Regions from separate parts of the Homo sapiens genome. Here region 2 is linked to region 1. Evidence: promoter capture Hi-C in human tissues and cell types (Jung and others, 2019). All regions are on one chromosome and are shown on one strand. The core of a region is centred on a gene start or on the middle of the fragment in contact, and the rest is flanking DNA. Distances in the headings are between cores, read along the strand shown.

Evidence for each region. Contacts are between HindIII fragments. The study calls those that stand out against the background at their distance.
Region 2: a fragment that was not itself captured here is called in contact with the fragment with the promoter of AHSG in region 1 in 2 of the 25 tissues and cell types used here (IMR-90 fibroblasts and stomach).

What each region holds. Positions count from the first base shown.
Region 1 is chr3:186,609,875-186,616,207 of GRCh38, forward strand. It overlaps AHSG (alpha 2-HS glycoprotein), which reads left to right and starts at 3,186. Exons shown (of 7, transcript NM_001622.4): 1 at 3,186-3,480; 2 at 5,811-5,921. The coding sequence starts at 3,268. The HindIII fragment of the contact is 10,895 bases long and covers 1-6,333 here.
Region 2 is chr3:186,322,724-186,329,056 of GRCh38, forward strand. The region is part of intron 1 of DGKG (diacylglycerol kinase gamma); the gene reads right to left. Among named protein-coding and RNA genes, the nearest start is that of DGKG, 36 kb to the right of the region's middle. The HindIII fragment of the contact is 3,991 bases long and covers 789-4,779 here.

The DNA.
Region 1 (6,333 bases), core at 1,936-4,435:
CTATCTCCTACTGATATGCAAAGAAGCTGGAGCCAGTTGGATCAAACTGACCCAAGATTACTCATGAGTATATGTATTCAGCACGTGAAGATCACTCATGAGTCCCATATACATTTGGCAAGTGAGAATCTTTTAAAGTTTAAAACTGGTGTCATCAGGCACAGGGAACTACCCATTGGCACTAATGCTACAGCCATCTTGGAAAACATACCAAAATATCATCTATTTTCTTCCTCATTTCCAGTAAGTAAATGGCAACATTTCTTTCTAAGGAAACTGAAAAAATCTAAGGGATCATTTTACTCAGCTTGATACCAAAGTTATTTTAGTTTATAAGTATTAGACATATGGAGTAGCTGTGATAAAAGCAAAGATATTCATAAATTACATTTTTAAAAAAGAATTCTGAGAGTGTTCACATATCTAAGTTCCCACAAAAGTCAGCATGAAAGCAGTAACAGAGGAAAAGAGAAAACAGCTGAGCTGACATCACACAACAGCTAAATGGAAGGGGGATAAATTGGCATAGCCAAATAGACTATTTGACTATAAAAATTAAGAGCTTTAAAAATGTGCAAATCATTAGAATCAATAATTTTACTTCTAAAAATCTATCCTGAAAAAAAGAATCAAAAGCCAAAGATTCCTAAATAAAAAAGTGTGTTTTTTTGTTTTTTTGTTTTTTGTTTTTTTTTTGTTTTTTTTTGTTTTTTGTTTTGAGACAGAGTCTCACTCTGTTGCCCAAGCTGGAGTGCAGTGGCACAATCTCCCCTCACTGCAACCTCTGCCTCCCAGGTTCAAGTGATTCTCCTGCCTCAGCCTCCCAAGTAGCTGAGATTACAGGCGTCCAGCACCACGCCCAGCCAATTTTTTGTATTTTTAGTAGAGATGGGGTTTCACCATGTTGGCCAGGATGCTCTCTATCTGTTGACCTCATGATCCACCTGCCTTGGCCTCCCAAAGTGCTGGGATTACAGGTGTAAGCCACCGTGCCTGGCCTGTAAACATGTTTTTAAGTCTACTTAATGACATAGGAAAATATTCAAGTTAAAGCAATAGGTGAAAAAATTTTAACAGCTGTATATGCAGTATAATCAAAATTATATTAAAATATTATTTTACATAGAAAAAAAGAAAAGATATAAATGCATCAAAACATTAACACTGTTTATCTCTGCATGATGAGATTGTGAATGATTTCTTTTTTGAGACAGAGTCTCATTCTGTTGGCTGGGCTGGAGTGCAGTGGCACTATCATAGCTCACTGCAACCATAGCCTACTCCAGGTCTTATGCTATCATCCTGCCTTCATAGTTGGGATTACAGGTGTGTGCCACCTTACCACACTTTATTCAATTTTTCTTTTTTTTGAGTCGGAGTCCCACTCCGTTGCCAGGCTGGAGTGCAGTGGCGCAATCTTGGCTCACTGCAACCTCCACCTCCTGGGTTCAAGTGATTCTCCTGTCTCGGCCTCCCGAGTAGGTGGGACTACAGGCGCGCGCCACCACGCCCAGCTAATTTTTGTATTTTTAGAAGAGACAGGGTTTCACTGTGTTGGTCAGGTTGGGCTCAATCTCTAGGCCTCGTGATCTGCCCACCTCAGCCTCCCAAAGTGCTGGAATTACAGGTGTGAACCACCGTGCCCAGCCCTTCAATATTTTTAAAGATTATATAAAGAAAAGCATAGCTTCCACACACAGTTCAGGAGTCAGGGCCCTGAGTGAAATGGAGTATAAGGTGATGGAAGATTGCCCCTGGCTTTGAGGATCATCTTGCTGGATGACCAGAGTTTGTTTTTCATCTGGAAGAATCATGGTCCCCCTCTTGGAGAGAACCTGGAGTCCTGGCCACACCTTCTGAGCTTCTGACATTAAGATTCGGTGTGGTGTGTGAGCAGCTGGGAGTAAATGTGAGAACAGTCCTGCCAACTACCTTCTCTGCCCCATCACCACTCACTTCACCTCCCTCACCCCGATTCTCACCCCAGAAAATCAATATTAAGCTTCCCTTTGGAGGGGCCCCTCTTCTTTCTTTTTTTTTTAACCAGTTTTTTTTTCTCTGAAGCAATATCAAACATTAGAACAAATTCACCCACACACAATGATGGCCTCTAAATATTTGAAGACCATGTTGGTCTCCATGAGAGGGCTTCTTTGCTTCAGACTAAACCAAACCAGGTCCTTGTGTGATATTTCCCAAGCCTCTCTTTATCCTGCCAACCCTCCTTGGATGTCACACTTGGAATTGTCAAGGGTCACTTAATAGGCAGTGCCTGGAGTCAACACTGGCCCTCTGTTCTGGCCAGAAAGACACACTGTAATTCTGCTGAGTCTGCAAAGAATGTTCAAGGGGTATTTGTGTCCGTAGCTGCTCGTGCAGCATCTCAGCCTGCGGTGTCAGACTCGAACCCAGAGCTGTGTCAAATGAGTCAGGACTCCCCTCTGCTGCCCTTGTGCACTGGCAGGGGCACTAGGTTACTAGTGCTAGGAGACTCTGGTCAGTGCCCATCTGTGCTGTCACATGCAGGGCCCTGGCAGTGAGGTCTGGAGAAGGAAGAGAAGGGGCAGGGAACCCCACACGTTTTGCTGGTCATTTCCCACCGTGGTCCTGCCACGGGAACCCCCTTCTTCCACCTCCATTCCCCACTTTAGGCAGAAACATCTCTCATCCTTTTTCTTTTCTCCAAGAATCTTCCCCCAAAATCTTGGCATCTCCTATACACATCTGTACCTTTGCTATATCTGTGGGCCTTGTTCTCCCTGTAGGACTCCTCTTGGAAAGCTAACTCCCCCTGACATTGGAGAATTTTATCAAATTGCTGAGTATCCTCCCTTCCCTCTCACAGACCCCATGGCATGCTCAGATCACAGTAGAAGACATTTCCTCTGCTGCCAAACCCATGGCACTCTGAGGCTGACTGTGTCCACCTCATTCCCTCAGCTGTCTTCTCTTTGCTGCTATTACCATGTTCCAAGCAGACTTTGGAGCATCTCCCCCACAGCAGCATGGACTTTGGCAGATTTCTTGGGGACCAGCGATGTCCTAACCTGTTTGCTTTTCCAGGGCTGATGTTTGCAGGGTGTTTTTTTTTTTCTTTTGAACCAAAGCAGAAATCATCCTGTATCCTTATGCAATTCTTCCGGCAGGCTCCAACAGATAAATAAAGCCCACCACCCTCCATGGGTCTACCTTTCCCAGCAGAGCACCTGGGTTGGTCCCGAAGCCTCCAACCACCTGCACGCCTGCCAGGGCCTCTCTGGGGCAGCCATGAAGTCCCTCGTCCTGCTCCTTTGTCTTGCTCAGCTCTGGGGCTGCCACTCAGCCCCACATGGCCCAGGGCTGATTTATAGACAACCGAACTGCGATGATCCAGAAACTGAGGAAGCAGCTCTGGTGGCTATAGACTACATCAATCAAAACCTTCCTTGGGGATACAAACACACCTTGAACCAGATTGATGAAGTAAAGGTGTGGCCTCAGGTAAGTGGACCTGCTGTCTATGAGCTGAAATAATGTGTACATGGAGCTCAATCAGGTGCCTCAAAAAATCACCATCACCCAGTGCAAATGAAACCACAGAGGAGTAAATTCTCTGATTTCTTCCCAGGAGTGAGGGAAGGGGCAGGCAGAGGGCAGGAGAGGAGACATTCTGTATGGCAGTCATGGGTGTCAGGAGGGAGCTGGGTGGGGTGTGAGGTGGTGTGCAGGAGAAAAAGTGCTTCAAATGGTAGTGTGCAGATCACAGACAGAAAGTGTAACTTGCTGGAAAAACTAGGACCCAAGAGACCAGCTCCTAGTTGCCAAGTTACCACTGGCTGAAAATCACGTATCTGTCTTTGGTTTGGTTTCTCTCTAACAAAGACTGAGAATGAATAAAACTAGCATCTGGCAGATGCCTACTATATGCCAGGCCCATTCACATAGATTATCTCATTTACTCTTTCCCGGTCCTGCCTCCTGGTGCTGTGTGGTACATATATTGTTCTTGTCTTACCCAAGAGGAGACCAAGGCTCTGTTGTGTGTGTGTGTGCAGTTTTTTTGTTTTTTGTTTTTGTCTTTTTTTTTTTGGTCCAAAATCATATAATTACTAAGTCTTCAGGCTGGGATTTGATTCCATATCTGTGTTCCTTCTTCTACACAAACTGCCTCCCAAAGAGAGTTACCCACATCCCAGAGAGAAGTCTTGGCATAAACACAATTCACCTCCTCACACACTAGACAGGAAACCAACGCAGCTTGAAGCCAGTGACAAGAAAAATCAAGCTGGAAATATGCCTCGGGGATCAGTCAAGAGATTTGGAGAGGTGGAAAGAAGCTGTCTGCCTACTGCCTGTTTTGAAATTAGATTTATTTCTGATTAAGGACAATTCTTTCAGCAAATATGTATTACAAGCCTTCCTTGGACAAGAACCAGAGATATTAGGTTGAACCATATAAAACTGCCATTTTTCTATATCAAAAGCAACCAAATATTGGCCGTTTTAATGGTTCAACCTAATACAGTGGTGAAAAAGGCACAATATGTGCCCACAAGAGCTTACAATCTAGGTTGGAAAATAAGGTCAACAACAGGAAGCCTGGACCGACTGACGACTGCCATCCGTCTCACAAAGAGACAAAATATTTGAAATCAGGATTGCTCCGGATGGATTTTAAGAGTGCTGCAGCCATATTAAAGCACAGTGGTGGTTAGGAGGAAACGCTGATCAAGTCAGGGGAAATGAACACGCAACACGCACATCTGAGGGAAAAGGTAATCATGAATGGGCATTGTGACTTTTACTAAAGGCAGAGCTTCAGAGTTGGTTCCCTTGAGAAACCCAGGTGTACCCGGTTCCTGTTCGCCAGAGCTGTGAACGCTTTCAGGCAGTCACTCTGGGCACACCTGGACATCATAAAATGCGGAGCTTCTCCCAGGGGAGGGGATGCTGAGGCTTCAGGTACTAGTGAATCAGGCAGAACCAATGAGAGGCAAACAGAGCTGGGCTGAGAGGAGAAAAGGCATACTTGTACCTTCTGGATTTTTCAGGCTTCGAAGACAAGATACAGAAACAGGTGAACTCACAAGAATATCTCCAAGGATTGTTGCAAGCTCCCTCGTGTCTACACTAGTGACATCCAGTTTCCTGTCAGAGGGAGACATGCCCTTCCCCATTATCGCCAGCAGGGGGAAGTAGAGAGCAGCATCGTTGCATGCCGGCACCTGCTGCACAAGCCAAGACAAAGGAAAAACCAAGGACAACAGCAGCAAAAACCTCTAGGAGGGAAAAGAAAACGGAGGAAGGAAGGAAAGCAAATAATGAAAAGGAAGAAAGAAAGAAGGAGAGGGAGGGATAGAGGAGATTAAAAAAAGACAGTAAGATATTACCCTACACCACCTTATTTTGCAGCTTGTCTGAGAAAAATCCAAACTTGCATTTTCCAAAGCACTGCTTGAAGAGTGAAATCTTAAAAAATTAAATAAATAATAAATACAAATAAGTGTTAACACCCATTTGTAGTTTTCAAATAGAGCTCAGAGTGAGGGCTGTGGCTCCATCGACTTGTTCAAGCCCAGGACCCCGTCTGCTTTGCGAGCATCATCTGGTGCTTCCTTAATCAACAGACGAAGACCAGACAAGCCCTGGTCATTGTCCTGCCCACAGGCCAGTTCAGAGCTAGACGGAGTTGCAGACTGACAGTAAGAATGACATTTCCCTCACCTCTCCAAAAGCGGGGTGCTCTCAAGCCCAATGAGGGCGCATACCGTGGACCGCACCACAGGATCAGGGGAATAGGTTGCTCACGGCTTCACTCTTTGTCTCCACAGCAGCCCTCCGGAGAGCTGTTTGAGATTGAAATAGACACCCTGGAAACCACCTGCCATGTGCTGGACCCCACCCCTGTGGCAAGATGCAGCGTGAGGCAGCTGAAGGAGCATGTGAGTACCCTTCTTAGGATGACTGTAGGTGGCCCTTCGGCCAGCTCCACCGATTCACCCAGCGTCTCAGCCTGCCTTCTTGGCTAGCCAGGGTGCAGTTTCTAAAATTGCCATTTGTGGCCGAGCGCAGTGGCTCATGCCTATAATCTCAGCACTTTGGGAGGCTGAGGCAAGTGGATCGCCTGAGGTCAGGAGTTCAAGACCAGCCTGGCCAGTATGGTGAAACCCCATCTCTACTAAAAATACAAAAATTAGCTGGACGTGGTGACGGGCACCTGTAAATCCCAGCTCCTCGGGAGGCTGAGGCAGGAGAATCGCTTGAACCCGGGAGGTGGAGGTTGCAGTGAGCCAAGATCCTGCCATTGCACTCCAGCCTGGGCAACAACAGTGAATCTCTATCTCGAAATAATAA
Region 2 (6,333 bases), core at 1,534-4,033, 290 kb before region 1:
TGAATCTGAATATTCAGATATTCAGATGCCTTAATCCAGATCTGTATATCCAACCATCTACTGTGACTCCCTTGTGTGTCCCAAACCACCCCTGATCTGCATCTTCCAGTGTCCCCAGCCGCTCGGGTTATGCCCAAGAGAAGCCAGTGCCCAGGTCAGAGGCAGGAGGCTCAGCTAAGCTCCTCCCCTTTTCTCTCCTGCCAAACCCAGGCACAGCTCCGGAGTTTGACTGTCCACTGTGTGCTCCCTCTTGTCCACCACACCAGCCCTGGCATTAACTCAGACCTTCCTTATCTCTTGCCTGGCCTTTGACAACAGCCTCCTGCTGCTCTCCCTGCCTTGCGCTTTGTTCTCCTCCCCTTGGTCTGCTCTTTAAATTGCCAACCAGATCACATCTCTCTCGGTAATAAAATTCTTCAGTAGTTTCTACTGCCTGTAGAATAAGATGTAATCTTCTTTTCATGATACACAAAGCTCTTTATGATCTGGCTCGTGATGATCAATTTAGTACGAAAGTGAGGAGTATCCTTTAGAAACCTTTGCCATCGTGCCAGGGAATCTAGCATTGCAACCACTGTCACCGCTGCTGCTGCTATCAATGAATGGACCTGTACTTTACTCTGTGCTATATGCTTTATATACATTATCTAATTTAGTCCTCTTAATAACATGTCAATTCAATATTGCTGTCCCTGTTTTGCGGATGAGAAAAAAATGAGGTTAGGTATTTAGTAAACATGGTGAGGAGAAAGAAGGAGCCACTAGTGCTTCTGTTTAAGAATGCCTCCTGCTGGGTGCGGTGGCTTATGCCTGTAATCCCATCACTTTAGGAGGCTAAGATGGGCGGATCATGAGGTCAGGAGATCGAGACCATCCTGGCCAACATGGTGAAACCTTGTCTCTACTAAAAATACAAAAATTAGCTGGGTGTGGCCAGGCGCAGTGGCTCACGCCTGTAATCCCACCACTTTGGGAGGCCGAGACGGGCGGATCACAAGGTCAGGAGATCGAGACCATCCTGGCTAACACAGTGAAACCCCGTCTCTACTAAAAACACAAAAAAATTAGCCAGGCGTGGTGGTGGGTGCCTGTAGTTCCAGCTACTCAGGAGGCTGAGGCAGAAGAATGGTTTGAACCCAGGATGCAGACCTTGCAGTGATCTGAGATTGCGCCACTGCACTCCAGCCTGGGCAACAGAGTGAGACTCCGTCTCAAAAAAAAAAAAAAAAAAAAAATTAGCTGGGTGTCGTGGTGCATGCTTGTAATCCCAGCTACTCGGGAGGCTGAGGCAGGAGAATCGCTTGAACCAGGGAGTCAGAGGTTGCAGTGAGCCAAGATCACACCACTGCACTCCAGCCTGGCGACAGAGTGAGAGTCTGTCAAAAAAAAAAAAAAAAAAAAAGAATGCCTCCATGGCCTGGGCATTCTGCACACCTTCAGAAGCACAGAGGGAGATCTAAGAGGACGCATAGGCACACTGCATGACAGAACAACACTGAACTAAAACCAGAAGGCAGAGAATTTGAATCTGGGCTCTGCCCTTCTGAGCTATTTCACCCTAGACATATTTTTCATCCCTTGAACTTTGGTTTCTTCATCTAAAACATGAAGATATTAATGAAAAAGCTTACTGGGTTGGTGTTAGGATTAAGTGGGTTAATATATGCAACAAACATAAAAACAAAATCCCCACCTGGTGCAATGCCTGCACATAGCAAACACTCAATAAATGATTGTTATTATCATCCAGTTGCAAATACAACATGTAGCAATGTGGCTTAAACGATCAGCTGAAAAAAAAAAAAAACCCAAAATAACCCCATTAAAAAGTGGGCAAAGGGCACAAACACACTCTTCTCAAAAGAAGACAATACAAGTGGCCAACAAACATGAAAAAATGCTCAACATTGCTAATCATCAGATACATGTACATCAAAACCATGACTATTATTAAAAAGACAAAAACAGATACTGGTGAGGCTTTGGAGAAAAGGGAATGCCTATACACTGCTGGTGGGAATGTAAATTAGTTCAGTCACTATGGAAAGCAGGTTGGAGATTTCTCGAAGAACTTAAAACAGACCTCCCATGCAATGCAGCAATCCCATTACTGGGTATACATCCAAAGGAAAATAAGTAGTTCCACAAAAAAGACACGTGCACTCATATGTTCATCACAGCACTATTCACAGTAGCAAAGGCATGGAATCAACCTGGATTTATCCAATTTATCCATTTATCCAATGATGGACTGGATGGATAAAGAAAATGTAATGCACATATACCATACAATACTACACAGCCGTAAAAAAGAATGAAATCATGTCCTTTGCAGCAACATGGATGCAGCTTGAGGCCATTATCCAAAATGAATTAACACAGGAATAGAAAATACCAAATACCAAATAGAAAATATGTGAAAACCAAATACTACATGTTCTTACTTATAAGTGGGAGCTAAACATTGGGAACATATGGACATAAATATGGAAGTAAAAGACACTGGGGATTACTAGAGGGGGCAGGGGGAAGGGGCAAAGGCTGAAAAACTGAAAAACTGAAAAATTGGGTACTATGCTCACTACCTGGGTGATGGGATCATTCATACTCCAAAGTCAACATCATGCAATATACTCAGGTAACAAACTTGCCCCTGTACCCCCTGAATAATAGTTGAAATTTTAAAAAATCAGCTGGCAGTAGTCAAGTAGAAAGTTTCTAGTATTGTGCCACAGGTTTCTGAACTTGATCTGATACTGCTCCAGGTTGTTGTAATTTTGTAATTGCTCATCAACCCTTATCCACTAGTTTTAGCGTCCACTAATGATTATTGCCTGGATTAATTATTACAATGATACTGATTTTCTAATTCCATCATTCCCTTTATATTTGTTAGTTAGGAGTCTATTGTAAGTAAGAGCTTTCCCTTCTGTTATTTATATCAATTTATATGTCTACTATAAATAAAGATAAATTATAAATATATAAAGAATATATATGTGTGTATAAAAACTGCATTTATATATAATATATATTTATTTTCACAGATTCTTATTTTATTCTGTGGGTTACAAATCTGTTGCTATCTTCGACTCTCAGATTATTCCAGATTTGATCAGTGGAAGCTCAGTCAAGGTGGCGATCTGTTCTTTAGATATATCTCAGTCATTTTTTCAGCACATCCTTATTTTCTAGCACTACAAAATGTTTCAGGCTCATCTCGTACTTCCTCAGCTCAAGTGCTAAAATCAGTCATTTCTCTAAGGAGTTCCTTTGGTGAAGAATGGCATTTGAAGCCAAAGCTTGGGTACCACGTATGCTCACTGCTGCTGGGGTGTCATTGCTTCTAGGCCCTATCAAGGACAGAGCTAGAAAATAGATGCGTGTGCTGGGCGTGGTGGCTCATGCCTGTGATCCCAGCACTTTTGGAGGCCGAGGCGGAAGGATCACTTGAGCCCAGGAGTTTGAGACCAGCCTGGCCAACATGGCGAAGCTCTGTCTCTATTAAAAATACAAAAATTAGCTGGGTGTGGTGGTACATGCCTGTAGTCCCAGCTACTCAGGAGGCTGAGGTAGGAGAATTGCTCGAACCTGGGAGGTGGGGGTTGGATGTTGCAGCGAGCCGAGATCCTGCCACTGCACTCCAGCCTGGGTGACAGAGTGAGACACTGTCTTAAAAAAAAAATAGATGTATGTACACAGATACACACACACACACCCCTCATCTCTCTCTCTCTCTCTCTCTCTCTCTGTTAAATACCTTGAGTTCATACTTACACCTCCAACTCCAGTCCGACATTGCAAAGTCAATTGTAGCCTTCCCTTCCTTCCATATTTTTTAACTATCTTCTCTAACAAGCTTTGTTTCCATCATCTACAACATACTTATTTGCTTAATACACAGAAAGTAGTTTCAGAATTGCCAGTCCACACCTCTGTGAAAAACAAAATAGACTTCAAGATTTGTTTACAGTTCTATTGTTTTCAGGCAACGGCAAATCCTCAAAATGCTACTCTCAAAAGTTACGTAGGTTAGTTCTTTCTCACTCCCATCAGTTTCTGTTTGTATTTCATTTTAGGATGTTTTCTTCATATCCACTGATTCTTTTTCAGTATGGTTCCAAAGTCAAAACTATATAGAAAGATATATTCAGCCAGGCGTTGGTGGCTCACACCTGTAATCCCAGCACTTTGGGAGGCTGAGCCAGGCAGATGCTTGAGCCCAGGAGTTCTAGACCAGCCTGAGCAATATGGCAAAACCCCGTCTTTACAAAAAATACAAACAAAAAAATTCACCAGGCATGGTGGTGTGCATCTGTGGTCCCAGATACCCAGGAGGCTGAGGTGGGAAGATCACCTGAGCCTGAGGGATCAAGGCTGCACTGAACTATAATTGCACCATTGCACTCCAGCCTGAGCAGCAGAGTGGGATCCCGTCTCAAAACAAAAACAAAAAGAAAAAGATATACTCAGAGAAGTATCCCTCATTCCTCTTACTCTTTTCCCATCTCCTCTTTTCTATCTTATTCTCACTTACCCTTATAGTATCTAGTTTATACTTCCTGTGTTTAGTTTTGCACATGTGAGAAGATATGTGAATATCTTATTTCCCCCTTTCCTCCTCCTTCTCCTCCTCCTCCTCCTCCTCCTTATTCTTTTTCTTCTTCTTTTTTTTTTTTTTGAGGCGTGGTTTCTCTCTGTCACCCATGCTGGAGAGCAGTAGTGGAATCACAGCCCACAGCAGCCTTGAACTCCTGGGTTAAGCAATCCTCCCACTTCAGCAGCCCCCTCCCAGCCCTCCCAGTAGAGTAGCTGGGACTAGAGGTGTATGCCACTATGACCTGCTAATTTTTTTTTTTTTTAACTTTTTGTAGAGACAGTGTCTCACTATGTTGCCCAGGCTGATCTCGAACTCCTGGGCTCAAGTGATCCACCTGCCTCGGTCTCCCAAAGTGCTGAGATTATATGTGAGCCTCTGTGCCTGGCTTCCCTTTCTTTCTAATACAAAAGGTAGCACATTATAGATCATCATCTGCATATTGTTTTTTCACCAATCAATACATCCTATGAATCACACCATACCTGTTCATAGAGATCTTTCTCATTTAGAATTAAATAGGACTCTGACACTTATCTCCTTAAAATCCTTCAGAAGCCTCCCTTGGCCTCCAGGAAAAAAAGAGCTGTCTCCTTAGCTAGTTCCACAAGGTTCTTTACCTGTGGTAATAACTCACCTCCCCATTCTCACCCCCATTACCTCCTGCCCCACACACTCCACCTTCCAGCCAAATCTACCTTCTGTCTACTCTTAGCACTAGCAAAGTGCCTGGATGTGGGAGGACCCCATAAGCATTATGGCCTGACAAACACACCATGCCTTTGATCTACTTGAAATGCCCTTTACTCCTTCCTTCCTAAAACAAATCTCTACTCATCTCTTTAGATCCAGATTAAAAGGTCACTTCTTTTCTATAGCTTTTTGGAACTCTTTGAGCAAATTTGCCTGTTCTCCCAGCTGTGTTCCACAGAATCCTATGTATTTCTCTATTGCGGTGGTTGATGATTCCCTGTGGGGGACAGACACCCAAACAGCTATTAATAATTAACATACAAGCTGGCAAGAGAAGTGGTGCAGATATGTCCAGAGATTTATGGGGTCATCTAATGTGTCTGAAGCAGGCACAAATAATCAGGAAAAGCTTCCTGAAGGAGCTGATGCTCCTGCTGAGGAGGGGTGACGAGGTGATGTGGTATACATTGCTATAACTCAACAAATATTCATATTATCATTATCATGGTTGTTCCATTGTAGCTCAGTGCTTGAATTCACAGTGGAAAAGGCTACACCATTCTTTTTTTTTTTTTTTCTTGAGATGGAGTTTTGCTCTGCCGCCCAGACTGGAGTGTTGTGGCATGATCTCAGCTCACTGCAACCTCCACCTCCTGGGTTCAAGTGATTCTCCTGCCTCAGCCTCCCGAGTAGCTGGGACTACAGGCACCTGCCACCACGCCCGGCTAATTTTTGTATTTTTTGTAGAGACAAGGTTTCACCACCATGTTGGCCAGGCTGGTCTCGAACTCCTGACCTCAGGTGATCTGCCTGCCTCAGCCTCCCACAGTGCTGAGATTACAGGTGTGAGCCACTGCGCCCGGCCTTACACCATTCTTTATTTCCTTCAAGAAAAGTTAGGGGCCTAAAACATTGCCTGACTCTCCAGATGGTATCCCACGTGACAGCCCGCCTCTGCCTTCTGCCCTTTGATGAAGGTGACAGCTGACAGCCAGGAGGGCTTTCTCTAGCTCACGAAGCTCGGCACTTCCCTCAGCAGCCTG